Regions from separate parts of the Homo sapiens genome. Here all the other regions are linked to region 2. The links are contacts of gene promoters, found by promoter capture Hi-C in blood cells and fetal thymus (Javierre and others, 2016). All regions are on one chromosome and are shown on one strand. The core of a region is centred on a gene start or on the middle of the fragment in contact, and the rest is flanking DNA. Distances in the headings are between cores, read along the strand shown. Region 1 holds the start of MIR5010 (microRNA 5010). Region 2 holds the start of CAVIN1 (caveolae associated protein 1). Region 3 overlaps ATP6V0A1 (ATPase H+ transporting V0 subunit a1).

Region 1 (2,700 bases), core at 117-2,616, 91 kb after region 2:
TGCGGGCCCTGGGGCGGCAGCCAGCAGTGGTAGGAAAGAGCTCTTAACCACGGTGTTGGGATTTAGGGAACTCAGGGAACTAGGATTACCCTAGTTTTCAGGGTAAGTAAGGAAGCTTGAAGAGCCTGTTCCGGAAGAAAAGCCCAGAAATAGGCTAGGTGTCGACAGAGGTGAGGGAGAAGCAGACGTTCGCCCAGAGATGGCATGGTGGAGCCAGCCCCCTCCACGCTGGCTGCACCCCTGTGGCCTGGGCTGTTGTGGCTTTACCAGCCAAGCCACTTTCTCCCATCCCCATGTTCTCAGTGATTTCCCAAGGCATTTCTGGTGTCCTTTGGGAGTGGAATCACGTGGGTTTTGAAAGGAACTGCGGTGAAAAATAGACCCTGACCTGAGGGCAGGGGCCGATGGGGAGGCCACTGAGCCCTCAGGAGTGTCTGAAAGCTCAGAAGATTCTGGTCTGGGCTCTGCGGGGGGAAGCCCCATAAGGGAGCGCCTCCTGGTCTTTGGTCAGCTTGACAGAGAGGCCCAGGGAAAGTACCTGGGGCTTCCAGAATATACCAAATTCAGAAGCCCACATTCACCCCTGACTGTGCTTGGAGCAAACCTGAAAGTTCACTCCCAAGAGCTTGTTCCAGCCCATTCCTTTATTCTGGAAATAATTCTTGGTATTGAAAGGAAAACTGGGACAAAGGGAGCTTGAGGAAAACGAAAACAAACAAGAAACTGGAGATATGCTATTTAGTCTTAACCCAAACAGATATGCTGTTTGGCCTTAACCCATGTGGAAATTTGTAAACTTTGTCAGGATTTCCCTGTGCATGGTGGTGAAATCATGTAGGGAAAAAAAAATTCACCGTGTAATCTCTTTAGAAGTCACAAAAGAAAAAGAAGGTTATCTTGCTCCCAAAAGGCTGTAAAAAGAATAAGTAAAGTGGCCATAGAGGCCTAGTCTTCTCAGGACAGTGTCCGGGTTGAGAGTCTGTCTCCTGAAGCGCACTCTGGGGAAAATCCCTTCCTGCCCTCCTGCAGGTCCTTAGGGTCCCAGACCCAGACAGTCACTTTCTCAACAGAGTGCCGTCAACTCAGCACACACTCCTCTCTTGAGCACAGAGCCCCAGAGGGAGAAGAACAAATGTGTTGAAAAGAATCTTATTAAGATGTAGTTAATTAAAATGTAATGTATTGAGGGGAATGGAGGTGTCCCAGGTGAGGGCTAAGTCAGGCAGGATTTTTGGGGAAGGCATTGCCGAAATCACCACCTGAGCTCAACACTGGGTGCTTCTGGCCCCTCCAGAGTTGAGGTGCCATCCATGGGAAGTGCAGTCCCCTGCCCTGGCCCAGGTTCAAAGCGCCAAGTAGCCACAACTCAGAATGCCTGCACGTTCCCCTCCTAGCCTTATATCTTCTCTCTGGTTTCCTCCCACGACAGTTTGACTTTGGGGACACCATGGTCCACCAGGCCATCCACACCATCGAGTACTGCCTGGGCTGCATCTCCAACACTGCCTCCTACTTGCGGCTCTGGGCCCTCAGCCTCGCTCATGCGCGTGAGTACCTCTCTCCGGGCTCCGGAACTCTAGTTTCCCCCTCTGTGGGCGCACTGTCAGTTGGGGGGCTTAAGTCAAATGGAAATTACATGAAGGTTCTGGAATTATTCAGGTTCCTGAACCCAAGGAGAATGAGTACAGACAGGAGGCTCAGCACTTGTGCCAGGTTAGCTCTGCATGGTGGTCCCACTAAGGCAGTGGGAAGCCAGGATCCAGGGAACCCTAGAGCAGGGGGATGGCAGAGCAAAATTCATGGCCTACAGCTGCCTCTTGCCAAACTGCACTGGATTTTGTGTCTCCCATTCCCCAGAGCTGTCTGAGGTGCTTTGGACCATGGTGATCCACATCGGCCTGAGCGTGAAGAGCTTGGCGGGAGGTTTGGTGCTGTTCTTCTTCTTCACTGCCTTTGCCACCCTGACCGTGGCCATCCTCCTGATCATGGAGGGCCTCTCGGCCTTTCTCCACGCACTGCGCTTACACTGGTGAGGGGCAGTGGGGCAGGGCGGGCATGGGGGTGGATGTGTCCTTAGCTGCGGTGAGAGGGCAGCTTTTCTCCCACACACAGCCCTGCAGCTCTGTGCAGGAAAGATGAGCTGGCCCTGCACTAGCTTCACCTCAGGACACCCCAGCACCGGCATTGCCACAGAGTTTCGGAAAATGGTCACAGAAAAGCACAGCTCAGCCTTCCCTAGGCTCTAGGGAGATGTCCCTGGTGAGTGGTGTCAGGTCCCGCTCCCTGCCTTTAGCTGTCCCCAGTGCTCCTGATTTTGGCTTAAAGGGGCTGCTGGGGTCTTAGGGTTTCTGGTTTTCTCTCTGATGTGTAACTCTTCTGTCTTCAGAACAGTGGAAGCAGCTCTGGAATGTATGTTAAGTGCAGGAAAGGCTAGAACACGCTGCACCCCAGCTTTATCCTCTTTGTTCTGTCATTGTGCCAGGGGTCTTTGAGTTGGACCCCTGGCAGCTCCATTGTGGACCGGAGGGATTCCTGGCTCTATAGGGTGGAGGTCGGTACACTCACGCAGCTTCTTCACATGGGCAGGTTTGGGGTGGTTCTGTTTGTTTTCTTTAATGAAGCTTGTGACTCTTAATGGCTGTGTGTGGAGAGAGCATGAGTTCAGCCTCTGGGACTGGGAGAGCGGGGGTGTGGTCTGGG
Region 2 (2,700 bases), core at 101-2,600:
CCCCGCCCAGCCCCGCCCGCTTCCAGGAGGCCCAGGGTGCCAGCGCGCCGCGGGTGAGGGTGTCCTCAAGGGCCTGAAAATGCCTGGTGGCCAGGAGCAGAGAGCAGCGAGGGGACAGGGGTGGGCCGCCGAGGCCGATGTGGGGGCGCGGGGGCGCAGGGTCTGGGGAGGAGGTTGGCGGTCGCGTTCCCCGCTTGGCACAGCCCCCGCTGGTGCGTGCCTGAGCCCTGAATCACCCGCTATATCAGGCCCGCAGGCGCAGAGGCCCCAGGCCCGGGCCCCGCAGCCAGTGTCCGCTTACAGCGGACCCCAACGATCGCGAGGGACCCCTGACTTTCCTAGAAACTTCCCCCAAGTAGGAAGAAGTTTGACAGAGCCAATTAGGGAGGGAGCGGTCTGCGAGGGGCAGCGTCCTCGAGTCCACCCGCTAATTCGGTTCTGCTACAAGTTTGGGACCCGAGGGAAGGATCTGAGTGGGGAGGTGCGAGGTGCAGAGCGCGCCCCTCTACGCGCCCCAGGAGTCCGCCGCTCCCTCCACCCCATCCTACCCCACCCAACCCCACCCCAGCCGCGCTCACCGGAAGGAGGGTGGATCTGCCGGGCGCCCGGGCCAGGCTGGGAGGGGAGCAGCGCCACGGGCAGGTCTCCCCACCCCAACTCCCAGGCAGGGGACGCGGGCCGGGCGCGGGAGCTCTGGGCGCCTTCCGCCCTGTGGGCTCACCTGGTAGATCATGACTTTAAAGTTGCGGCGCCGCAGCAGCTCGGCCTCGTTGACCTCCAGCTTCTTGATCTGCCCCGCCTGGCGCTCCAGGCTGCCGCGCACGGTCTTCACGTTGACGCTGACCTTGCGCACCTTCTCCAGCAGCTTGCTCACCGTATTGCTCGTGGTGGCGTGCGCCTTGCCCAGCTTGCTCAGCTCGCCCTGGATGCTCTGCACTGCGCCCTCCATCTCCGCCTGCCGCTCCTCCAGCTGTGCTTGAGTCAGCTGGATCTGGTCTACGGCCCCGATGATTTTGTCCAGGAGGCTCAGCACCAGCACGCCGTTCACCTGGTCCGACTTGATCAGCTCTTCTGAGCCGGCCCCCGACGGCTCCTCCGCTGCCTGAGCCCCAGCGGAGGAAGGCTCCGGGGCCTCGGCGTCGGGGTACCCGGGAAGCGGCCGCTCGACAATATAGAGCGTGGGGTCCTCCATGGCTACCCGGAGCCGTGCGGGACCGGCCGGGTGGGGCTGGAGCTGGAGCGGGAGACCCGGAGAGAAGCAGGAGCGGAAGGGAGGAGAGCTAGCGGGCGAGAGCGGAGAGCAGAGGAAACTCGAGCCACGTCCGTGCGCACCGGGACAGCGGCCAGAACTGCTGGGCGGGGGATCGGTGAGCTCCCCAGCTCCCGGGCCAAACTCCGGAGTCTGATCGCTGATTGGCTGGCCCCACCCCAGAAAGGGAGGGACCGGGGCAGAAGGGGAGATCGACGAGGCGGGGCGGCGGAGGGGGACCCAAGAGCCGAGCGCCCCACCCTTCCCGGGATGGTTGGAATAGTTGGAGCGGGAGACTAGGGCCTCCGCTGGCGGCGGGAGCGGGACGGGCGGAGGAATGCGAGCTGAGGAACGGAATCAGGTTCTAAGAGTGTTGCTCTCTGTTTCCCTCTCACTTGAATTGCTCATCCGAAAATCCTCAAGATCTGGGAGCCGGGTGGACCAGGAGATTCTGAAATTATAGGCAAAATCTTGTATTTGCCTTTACCTAGATTTTGAGCACAAAAGGACCCTTGCCCTTTACAATATTTTCTAAGAGGCCTCTCGGATTTCCTCATCACCAACCCCAACCAGGTTACTAACTCAGGGGTAAGCTTAGGGGGTTGTTTGTGGGGGGCGGGGGGAGAAAGAGAGAACGTATTTGGGGTCACGGTGGTGGTGAAGGGCTGCGAAGCTCCTCTAAGTTCTTTTTAGAATTGCCCTAACAGAGTAGAATTAAGATGGGCAATCAAACGGAAAATAAAGCCCACCTCCCAACCCCCCTTTCTGAGACAGGGTGTCACTCTGTCACCCAGGCTGGAGTGCAGCGGTCTGATCACAGTTCACTGCAGCCTCGACCTCTTGGGCTCAGGCAATCCTCCCACTTCAGCCTCCTGAGTAGATGAGACTATAGGCGCTTGCCACCACGCCCAGCTAATTTCAATTTTTATTTTTTTCAATTTTTATTTTTTTAAGAGACGGGGTGTACACTATTTTGACCAGGCTGGTCTCGAACTCCTGAGCTCAAGTGATCTGCTGGTTTCAGCCTCTCAAAGTGCTGGGAGCCACCGCGCCTGGTGTAAAGCCCTTTTTAAAAGCCCACCTCTCTTAGGCCAGGCGCGGTGGCTCATGCCTGTAATCCCAGCACTTTGGGAGGCCCAGGCGGGTGGATCACGAGGTCAGGAGTTCAAGACCAGCCTGGCCCAAGATGGTGAAACCCCGTCTCTGTTACAAATACAAAAATTAGGCCAGGCGCAGTGGCTCATTTTGGGAGGCGGAGGTGGGTGGATCACCTGAGGTCGGGAGTTCGACCTCAGCCTGACCAACATGGAGAAACCCCATCTCTACTAAAAATACAAAATTAGCCAGGCGTGGTGGCGCATGCCTGTAATCCCAGCTATTCGGGAGGCTGAGGCAGGAGAATCACTTGAACCCGGGGGGCAGAGGTTGCAATGAGCTGAGATTCGCGCCAT
Region 3 (2,700 bases), core at 159-2,658, 66 kb after region 2:
AGACCATCCTGGCTAACACGGTGAAACCCCGTCTCTACTAAAAAATACAAAAAATTAGCCGGGCGTGTTGGCAGGCGCCTGTAGTCCCAGCTACTCTGGAGACTGAGGCAGAAGAATCAAGTGAACCTGGGAGGCGGAGCTTGCAGTGAGCTGAGATTGCGCCACTGCATTCCAGCCTGGGCAACAGAGCGAGACTCTGTCTCAAAAAAAAAAAATAATAATAAAAAATAAATAAATAGTAACATTAATGTCATTTTTATGGCATTTCACCTTCAGAGTTCTTCAATATATTTATTTGTCTTTTAACTTGACAGCACATTTCATACATAGCCTGGCATATAATATGTATATCATAGCGTAGCATAGCATATCTTTATTTTGCATATGTGGAGACTGCAGTTCAGAGAGCTGAAATAATTTGGTCATATGCCCATGATTCTTCAGGGTTGTTCATGGCCAGGGCATCAGTTTCCTGATGCCCTCTCTGTATATGACTGTTTCTGTTTAGTAGTTAATTAGAACAACTACTCTGTCCACAGAAGTGCTGTAAGTGCCTGGAGGAGTACAGAGATGTATAAAACATGCCCTCGAGTATCTTACAGTTTATTAGGAGAGTTCCAACTATGGAGTTGGAAAAAGCTTTAAGCAGGTGGCATTTGATCAGGTCTTTGAAGAATGATAAGTTGTTGGTAAGACTGCTGAATGAAGAGAAGAAAACAAAGGCAGGAAGTATGGTTAGACCATGTATGTTTGGACAAGAACAGGATTTACAGTGGGTTAGCTGAAGAGAAGTACCTGTCTGCATCAGGTAGTTTGGAACTTAATTGTGAAAGGTTCTTAAATAATAGCTTAGAAGATTTAAATTTTATTCCAGAGGAAGTTGAGAGACATTGGAAGTTCTTTAGGGGTAAAGGAACATGATCAAAGCAGTTTGGGTGGTTTTTTACATTTTTAATTTTGTGTTTGAGACAAGATCTTGCTCTGTTACCCAGGCTGGAGTGCAGTGGTGCCATCTCAGCTCACTTCAGCTTCCAACTCCTGGGCTTAAGCAATCCTCCCACTTCAGACTCCCGGTAGCTGGGACTACAGGTGCCCACCATCATGCGTGGCTAATTTTTTGTAGAGACAGGGTTTTGCCATGTTGCCCAGGCTGATCTCAAATTCCTGGGCTCGAGTGATCTGCCTTCCTTGGCCTTCCAAAGTGTTGGGGCCAGGCGTGGTGACTCACTCTTGTAATCCAGCACTTTGGGAGGTTGAGGCGGGTCATCACTTGAGGTCAGGAGTTTGAGACCAGCCTGGCCAACATGACAAAACCCCGTCTCTACTAAAAATACAAAAAAGTTAGCCAGGTATGGTGGTGGGTGCCTGTGATCCCAGCTACTCAGGAGGCTGAGGCAGGAGAACCACTTGAACCCAGGAGGCAGAGGTTGCAGTGAGCTGAGATCATGCCACTGCACTCCAGCCTGGACAGCAGAGTGAGACTCTGTCTCAAAAAAAAAAAAAAAGTGGGTCACCACGCCTGGTGGATCAAAGCAGTTTTTTTGTTTTTTGGTTTTTTTTTTTTTGAGATGGAGTTTTGCTCTTGTTGCCCAGGCTGGAGTGCAGTGGCATGATCTCGGCTCACTGCAACCTCCACCCTCCACCTCCCTGCTTCAAGTGATTCTCCTGCCTCAGCCTCCTGAGTAGCTGGGATTACAGGTGTGCGCCACCACACCCAGCTAATTTTTTGTATTTTTAGTGGAGACGGGGTTTCATCACGTTGACCAAGCTGGTGTCGAACTCCTGACCTCAGGTGATCCACCCGCCTCAGCCTCCCAAAGTGCAGGGATTACAGGCATGAGCCACTTCTCCTGGCTCAAAGCAGTTTTAAAAGAGTAATCTGCTGATAGTATCTAGGTTGGATTGAGGAGTGAAGAGATTCTGTAGGTAGGGGTTCAGTTAGGAGGTTATTGTAGACATAGAGTAGTAAATGATAAGGATCCCCAGGTAGGACTTGACAATGGGAAAAAAAATGATGAATTGTGAGATGTTCTGCAGGAAAAATCAATAGGGCTACCTGGTTCCTAGCAAGGTGCAGGAGAAATACAAGGAGAAAGATTTAAACATCTTTTTGAGGCATCAAAGCTGACTGGCCAGGAGAATTAGGGTTCCAATGAGGGAAGTAAATGTTCAGCCAGAGAAGCTTATTGATTGGGGAGAGATGGTAAGTTCAGTTCCGGGCACATTGAGGTCTATGTGGAAATGTCAAGCAGACAAGGGAACAAAGCTAAGGAAATGGGAGTCATGAGAATGGAAGGGAATGAGACCTCCAAGAGGGAGGTCATAGAGAGAAAAAAAAGGTTGGGGTCTTGCAATGCTATGAGATAGGCAGAGCAGAAATAACCAGCAAAGATAGAAAAGCAATGGTCAGCGAGCAGGAGGAGAACTCCTAAGGAAGAAGGATTTTCACCAAAGATCTCCAATGTCAGGGGCGTGCATGGGGGAGAGAAGCTCTTTGGTCAGGAGCCAGTCACTTTGCCTAAGCATGCTCAGCCAGACTGCAAGGGATCAGGAAGTTAAGAGAAGGTAGTGAAGAAGGAGAGCCAGAGAACATACTTTGCTTTCTCCATGAAAGGGGGAGAACAACTTTCATAAAAAGGCAGATATGGAGGCAGTTCCACATTTTCTTTGGTGACATATTTTAAAGTTAAATTTTTTTCA

What was found. The method cuts DNA at HindIII sites, captures the fragments that hold promoters and counts their contacts. A CHiCAGO score of 5 or more calls a contact.
Region 1: a fragment that was not itself captured here is called in contact with the fragment with the promoter of CAVIN1 in region 2 in 16 of 17 cell types (endothelial precursors, megakaryocytes, total CD8 T cells and 13 more); the score reaches 26.7 in endothelial precursors.
Region 3: a fragment that was not itself captured here is called in contact with the fragment with the promoter of CAVIN1 in region 2 in 14 of 17 cell types (megakaryocytes, endothelial precursors, M0 macrophages and 11 more); the score reaches 12.2 in megakaryocytes.

The regions. Positions count from the first base shown.
Region 1 is chr17:42,512,432-42,515,131 of GRCh38, forward strand. It overlaps ATP6V0A1 (ATPase H+ transporting V0 subunit a1), which reads left to right. Exons shown (of 22, transcript NM_001130021.3): 20 at 1,430-1,547; 21 at 1,858-2,029. MIR5010 (microRNA 5010) reads left to right here and starts at 1,757; the gene lies at 1,757-1,876. The HindIII fragment of the contact is 2,506 bases long and covers 114-2,619 here.
Region 2 is chr17:42,421,906-42,424,605 of GRCh38, forward strand. CAVIN1 (caveolae associated protein 1) reads right to left here and starts at 1,351. Exons shown (of 2, transcript NM_012232.6): 1 at 722-1,351. The coding sequence starts at 1,192. LOC102725238 (a long non-coding RNA gene) reads left to right here and starts at 1,283. Exons shown (of 4, transcript XR_007065758.1): 1 at 1,283-1,367. The HindIII fragment of the contact is 2,664 bases long and covers 1-1,840 here.
Region 3 is chr17:42,487,525-42,490,224 of GRCh38, forward strand. The region is part of intron 10 of ATP6V0A1 (ATPase H+ transporting V0 subunit a1); the gene reads left to right. Among named protein-coding and RNA genes, the nearest start is that of MIR548AT, 5.9 kb to the right of the region's middle. The HindIII fragment of the contact is 1,543 bases long and covers 638-2,180 here.